2 separate regions of the Homo sapiens genome follow, and region 1 is linked to region 2. The links are contacts of gene promoters, found by promoter capture Hi-C in blood cells and fetal thymus (Javierre and others, 2016). All regions are on one chromosome and are shown on one strand. The core of a region is centred on a gene start or on the middle of the fragment in contact, and the rest is flanking DNA. Distances in the headings are between cores, read along the strand shown. Region 1 has its middle 39 kb from the start of GRID1. Region 2 holds the start of GHITM (growth hormone inducible transmembrane protein).

Evidence for each region. The method cuts DNA at HindIII sites, captures the fragments that hold promoters and counts their contacts. A CHiCAGO score of 5 or more calls a contact.
Region 1: a fragment that was not itself captured here is called in contact with the fragment with the promoter of GHITM in region 2 in 6 of 17 cell types (naive CD4 T cells, total CD4 T cells, naive CD8 T cells and 3 more); the score reaches 11.2 in naive CD4 T cells.

The regions. Positions count from the first base shown.
Region 1 is chr10:86,404,191-86,407,561 of GRCh38, forward strand. No RefSeq gene overlaps it. Among named protein-coding and RNA genes, the nearest start is that of GRID1, 39 kb to the left of the region's middle. The HindIII fragment of the contact is 7,283 bases long and covers 1-3,371 here.
Region 2 is chr10:84,137,691-84,141,208 of GRCh38, forward strand. It overlaps GHITM (growth hormone inducible transmembrane protein), which reads left to right and starts at 1,819. Exons shown (of 9, transcript NM_014394.3): 1 at 1,819-1,903. RefSeq lists enhancers at 1,187-1,756, 1,757-2,326 and a silencer at 1,900-2,099. The HindIII fragment of the contact is 9,095 bases long and covers 196-3,518 here.

The sequences.
Region 1 (3,371 bases), core at 510-3,009, 2.3 Mb after region 2:
GTACTCCAGCCTGGGCAAAAAAAAAAAAAAATCACACATTATTCTCAATGAGAAATGTCAAAATTATTTTTAAACCAGAAGTATATATAGGATGACCTCTATCACTATCTCTATTCAGTATTATACTGGCAATCCTAGCCAGCACAGTAAGAGAAGAAAAAGAAAATGGACGTATAAAAAAGTGGAAAGCCAGAAATAAAACTCATTATGCAGGTGATATTCATATCTAATAGAAAACCAAATAAATCTGTAGATAATTTATTATACTAAGAGCTTATATAAAAATCAATTGCATTTTTATACAACAGCAGTTAGAAGGCATAATCTTTTAAATGTTATGTATAATTTTTAAAATAATACTATTTCCACTAGTAACAAAAAAATACAAGGTATCTAGGAAAAAGTCTTACAAAAGATGTGTAAGAAAAAAATTTAAAGACTTTATTATAATATATGAAGGACATAAATAAATACAAGAGTATAATGTGTTTTTAGAAAACTCAATACCAAATGAGGTCAATTTTTCCCAAATTGATTTCTAGAATCTATGTAATTCTAAACAAAAACCCCAATGGCCATATTTGAGGAACTTGATAAGCAGATGCTGAAATTTATCTGGAGGCTGGGCACGGTGGCTCATGCCTGTAATCCCAGCACTTTGGGAGGCTGAGGGGGGCAAATCACTCAAGGTCAGGAGTTCAAGACAAGCCTGGCCAACATGGTGAAACCCCGTCTCTACTAAAAATACAAAAATTAACCAGTCATGGTGGCATATATCCCAGCTACTTGGGAGGGAGGCTGAGGCAGGAGAATTGCTTGAACCTGGGAGGCAAAGGTTGCAGTGAGCCAAGATTGTGCCACTGCACTCCAGCCTGGGAAACACAGCAAAACTCCATCTCAAAAAAAAAAAAAAGAAAGAAATTTATCTAGAAAAGCAAAGGCCCAAGAAGAGTCAAGTAGCCATGACACAGGTAGGAAGAGGAGGATAAAGGACCTGATTTACCAGGTCAATATTTATAATGAAGCTACTATAACTAAGAGTGTGGTGTTGGCAGAAGGATACATAATAGACTAATGAAACAGGATAGAGAACCTAGAAGCAGCCTCAGAAAAATATGAAAACTTGACATCCAACAAAGGTGATTTTGAATACTTTATTAGTTCCCTATTGCTACTGCAACAAATTACCACCAATTTAGTTACTTAAAGCAATACACATTTATTATCAGGCAGTTCTGGGGGCCAGAATTCTAATGTGTCTGCAGGGCTGTGTTCCTTTTGGAGGTTCAAAGGAAGAATTCTTTTTCAGCTTCTAGAGCCAGCCTACATTCCTTGGCTTGTGACCCCTTCCTCCATTTTTAACGTGCATCACTTCAACCCCTGAGCTACTTCTGTCTTTACATTTCTCTGATTCTAACTTCTCTGCCTCCCTCCAATGAGGACCTTCTGATTATACTGGGATCACTACGTAATCCAAGATAATCTCCCCTTCTCAAGATCCTTAACTTAATCATACCTGCAGATTCCTTTTCTCCTTAAAAAGTAACACATTCACAGTTACAGAGATTAGTATGTGGACATCTATGGAGAGCCATTGTTCAGCCTACCACAAAGACCAACAGGGAAAGGACAGAAATGGTGCTGGGACAATTGGTTGTTCATATGGAAAAAACACAAAATTTATATTTTTAATACAAAAAATAATTTCAAAAAGATCACTTAAATGTGAAAATCAAAGTTTAATAGTTTTTGAAACTAATGTAGGAGAATGTTTTAACAACTTCGGTAGAGAAGGATTTATTAAATAATATATTAAAAATTGGAATCATAAAAGATTGGGCCGGGTACGATGGCTCACACCTATAATCCTAGCACTTTGAGAGGCCGAGGCAGGTGGATCACTTGAGCCCTGGAATTCATGATCAGCCTGGGCAACATGGCGAAACCTCATCTGAACAAAAACACAAAAACATTAGCCAGGCATGTTGATGCACACCTGCACACTGGTAGTTCCAACTACTCAGGAGGCTAAGGTGGGAGGATTGCTTGAGCCTGGGAAACAGAGGTTGCAGTAAGCCGAGATCACGGCACTGCACTTTAGCCTGGGGAAAAAAAAAAAAAAAAAAAAAAAAAACCTTCCAGAACATGAAGGCACATTTCATCGTCATTTTAAAACAAAAAAAGAATAAGAAGAAAAGAAAAGATTAATAAATGCAACTGCATTAAAATTTAGAAGCTCTATTTCATAAAAGACACTGTACAGAAAGTGTAAAGTCAAGCCACAAACTGGAAGAATATATTCACAACATTATAATCAACAAGGAAATCATATTCAGAATACGTAAGTATAAAAATCAATAAGAGGCTGGGCATGGTGGCTCATGCCTGTAACCCCAGGACTTTGGGAAGCCGAGGCAGGCAGATCACTTGAGGTCAGGAGTTCAAGACCAGCCTGGCCAACATGGAGAAACCCCGTCTCTACTAAAAATACAAAAATTAGCCGGGCATGGTGTCAAGTGCCTGTAGCCCCAGCTACCCAGAAGGCTGAGACACGAGAATCTCTTGAACCCGGGAGACAGAAGTTGCAGTAAGCCAAGATCATACTATTGCATTCCAGCCTGGGCAACAGAGTGAGACTCTGTCTAAAAAAAAAAAAAAAAAAATCAATAAGAAAAAGATAAACAACTCAATAGAAAAATGGACAAAAGACCAGTGGTCTGTAAATATGCTCAACCTCATCAGTAATCAGGAAAATGGAAATAAAGATGACACTTGAGATGCTAATTTATGTCTACCAAATTGGCAAAAGATTTCAAATCTGATTGTTCAAAGTGTTGGTGGAAAGATAGAGCAGTAGGGACGCCTTTAGCTACACATAGGAGTATAAATTGGCACAGTCACTTTGGAAAACAAGTTGACAGTATTTTAAACTGAATATGCACACATCCTATAGCCAGATATTTCACTCTTAGGTATCTATCTAGAGAAACTCTTGTACATATGCATGAGGAGATATTTACAAAATAGATCATAACAGAATTCTTTGAAATTAAAAATCTTCGGAGGGCCAGGCACAGTGGCTCACACCTGTAATCCCAGCACTTTGGGAGGCCGAGGTGGGCGGATCACTTGAGGTCAGGAGTTTGAGACCAGCCTGGCCAATATGATAAAACCCCATCTCTACTAAAAACGCAAAAATTAGCCAGGCATGGTGGTGCACGCCTGTAGTCCCAGCTACTCGGAAGGCTGAGGCATAAGAATCGCTTGAACCTGGGATGCGGAGGTGGCAGTAAGGGGAGATCATACAACTGCACCCCAGCCTGGGCAACAGAGTAAGACTCTGTCTCAAAAAATAATAATAATAATTAAAA
Region 2 (3,518 bases), core at 569-3,068:
TGGAACCTCTCCCTTCCTACACTGCCACAAGAGCATATATTTCCCAATGATATGACCAGATTCCTCCCCTGCTTCAAAATATTTGACCCCTGTGGAAACAACAATACAAGCCCTTTACTTGAGAAAGGAAAATATGAAATCAGACATTTTTCTTCCAATATGGAGAGAATAAGCTTTAATAGGAATCTTGAAGAAAGCTTGAGTCATTGACTTCAAGATCTTTATTCTGGTACTGTGTTGTAAATCCTTTCTCTTTGCTGATAACAGAAGCTCTAGAAAAAAAGACTATCACTGAAGGAGCCAAACAGAAAACCTATTTGCTAGCTAATAAAATTGGGCATAGATCAAAATAAAAATTAAACTGATCATGCTTGATCTGTTCAGTTTCGTGAGATTTCTCTAGTGTTTTCCTGCCATTTTCAGCGTAAAGAGATAAGAATTGTGTTGCTGCCAGACTCTTTTATTATCCACATAGAAGGCAAGTCTTTATATTTGTCAAGGTTTACATGATTAGGAATCATAAATCACAATTAACTACTGCTTAGGAGATAAAGGTTCATGAATTTTGCATGTTGTTAATCACCTTATCACCCTTTCAGGGTTTTAATCTGCTCTTTCTTCATGGTATTAAGTTATCACATTATATTTTTTCTATGTTCTGTCTCTACCAGAAAGTAAAGCCACAGAGCAAGGACTTTATTTTGTTAAAATAGTGGTAGCACACACGGGTTTAATTCATTTGCTGTTTTTTTGTTTTTGTTTTTTTGGTTTCTTTTTTTTTTGAGACTGAGTCTCCCTCTATCGCCCAGGCTGGAGTGCAGTTGCGGGATCTGGGCTCACTGGAACCTCCGCCTCCTGGGTTCAAGTGATTCTCCTGCCTTAGCTTCCCAAGTAGCTTAGATTACAGGCACCAATCACGCCTGGCAAATTTTTGTATTTTTAGTAGAGACAGGGTTTCCCCACGTTGGCCAGGCTGGTCTCGAACTCCTAACCTCAAGTGATCCACCCGCCGCGGCCTCCCAAAGTACTGGGATTACAGGCTTGAGCCACCACGCCCGGCTGATTCATTTGTATATATTTCTAGAACAGAGCTTGGTACGAAGTTGAGCATTCAGTAAATATCTGTTGAAATAGAGGGAGAGTGAAAAAGAAAGTAACTCTCTCGCGTATTCCACAACTAGCTCTTCACCTATCAAATTACGCGCAATGGAAACATCTTAGTCCTCAGAGCAATCCTGGGTGCAAGGCAGAGGCGGCTGTTATCAGGCCTATTACACAGGTTTAGGGTGAAACTTGAAAATGTGGGCGGGAAAGTCACAAAGCAATGAAAAAACCATCTAGAAAAAATCTTTTCTGGATGTCACCATCTAACATTTGGCATGAGACCCCAGAAACCGGATGACTCGGCTCAGAAGCAGACACATTTGAAAAGATATTTATCTCACGATAAATTAAGGGACAAAAAGGCCTTCAAAAAGGAACGGAATAAACGGAATAATTTTTAACTCTAACATTACTTTCTTTCAATTTTTACATAATTCTTATAGCTGCGGCGAGTGAAACGACTAAAACAAAAGCAAAACAGAGCTCCACTGCCCAAAACAAAGATGGCCGAGACGACTCCCATGCCCACACGCAAAATGGACGCTGACTATGACGTTCCCTGCAACAATCCTCAACTGGCCCCGCCCCACCAATTTGGAACCCCGCCTCCTCAACCCGGAACCCCGCCTCCCCCAGTGTGGCCGCTTTTCCGACAGAGGCCTGCCCGTGATTGGCTGCTCGTACTATTTACGTCCTTTCGATGTTGCGTCATGCAGTGCGCCGGAGGAACTGTGCTCTTTGAGGCCGACGCTAGGGGCCCGGAAGGGAAACTGCGAGGCGAAGGTGACCGGGGACCGAGGTACTGCTCCGGCTGGCCGGCGGGCGCCCGGGATCCCCGGTGGTCCTGACAGCCGCCCTCACGGGACCGCTGGGTGCGGGGGGAAGGGCTGGAAGCAGCGGTGCTGCTGGCTGCGTCAGGGCCGGCCTGCGCGTTGGGGTCGCAGTCCTGTGGGTGACCTGGTGGAGAGGGCGGCGGCACAAGGCCCTGGTCAGGCGGGCAAGGGCTCAGTGTAGCTGTGCTTCTGTCCTCGGGCAACAAGGTGCTGAGTCATCCTTGCGGCGAGGCCGTACAGCCGCTGCGCTGGTAGCGGCACCTGGGGCAGGGGCAGAGGTGTTGTGGGTTGACAGGGAAGTTTGCTGCCGGGTTCTCATCTGAATCTAGCGGGCTGGGTGAACTTTCTCGGGGACCAGGCACCCAAACTCATCAATGCTCACGGAGGCATAAGCCCTTGGATTAGGGTCGGTAGTATTTTCCCCATTTTATAGCAACGACATCTGAGTCTTAGAGATCCACACTCCTCACAAGGTCACTTCTAACCTGTCAGAAGCGGGATTCCCACTCTGGGCTGTTACGCCACATGGAGGTCACTCTGAGCTGGACCTCTTCGGCCCCAACCAGTGGACTGAGTACTGAGGAAGATACAGGACAGCCATAGGTTGAGATGATGTAATGGCACGAAAGTTCCAAAAGCGCTGGGTGTTTTCCCAAAGGCCGGGTGCCGAATTTTAAGACCCTTAATAGTTCAGTTGCAGAGCTCGGAGGACGCTCGGGTATCTTAAAGCAATAGTTCTTAGCTTTTGGAGTGTTCGTTAAAACACACGTTCTTGGTCTTATTCCTAGGGGTAGAATCATTAGGAGCAAAGAAAGACCCAGGAGCCTACATTTTAAGATGCATCCGGGGCACTTTCAAGCAGGTAGTCTAAGGGTCAACGCTGTAGTCTGAACACGGAATCCTTATGTTACAGATGGGGAAATGGGCCCAGAAGTATATCACTTGCCTAGAATTCACTACAAATCATTGGCAGAGATGGGCTGGTAGCCCCAGTTGGTTTACACTCGTCATTTCATTCTGACCTATTGTAGTCACCTCACCTTAGCATTACAGAAACACTGTCTGCTGACTTCTGGTTGACCACCCATCTAGTATAATGTGCCCTGGAGCTAAGATAATCCAGTTTTTAGCATGCTTTTCTTTTGAAGACACCATCGAGGGAGTCTAATGTAAGGGAAACCTGGTTGGTAACTGAGTTTACTTGTTTACTTTGAAAGACTAAATGTCCTTTACGCATTATAGTAGGACATATAGAATAGGTTAACTTAGAATATTTTTATATCTCATGTTGAAGGAAAGTAATATTTGGTATGATTAGCTGAAATTCATATAGTTGGCTTCTTTTAATACCTTTTAGCTTTGTAATGCAGTATAACCTTGAAGAGCTATTCATGTCTTCTTTGGATGACACTATTCCTTTGCCCAAAAGTTATGTAGATTCTTTTAAATTTTCCCACTGGATGCTGGTATAAATCTTAAGCCAAAACTACATTTGTAAAAACCATCACAGACTCTGTAATCACGTCCAGTTATTAACAGCCGTTCTGTGTTACACATAATTTTTGCAGTCATCTATTTTGA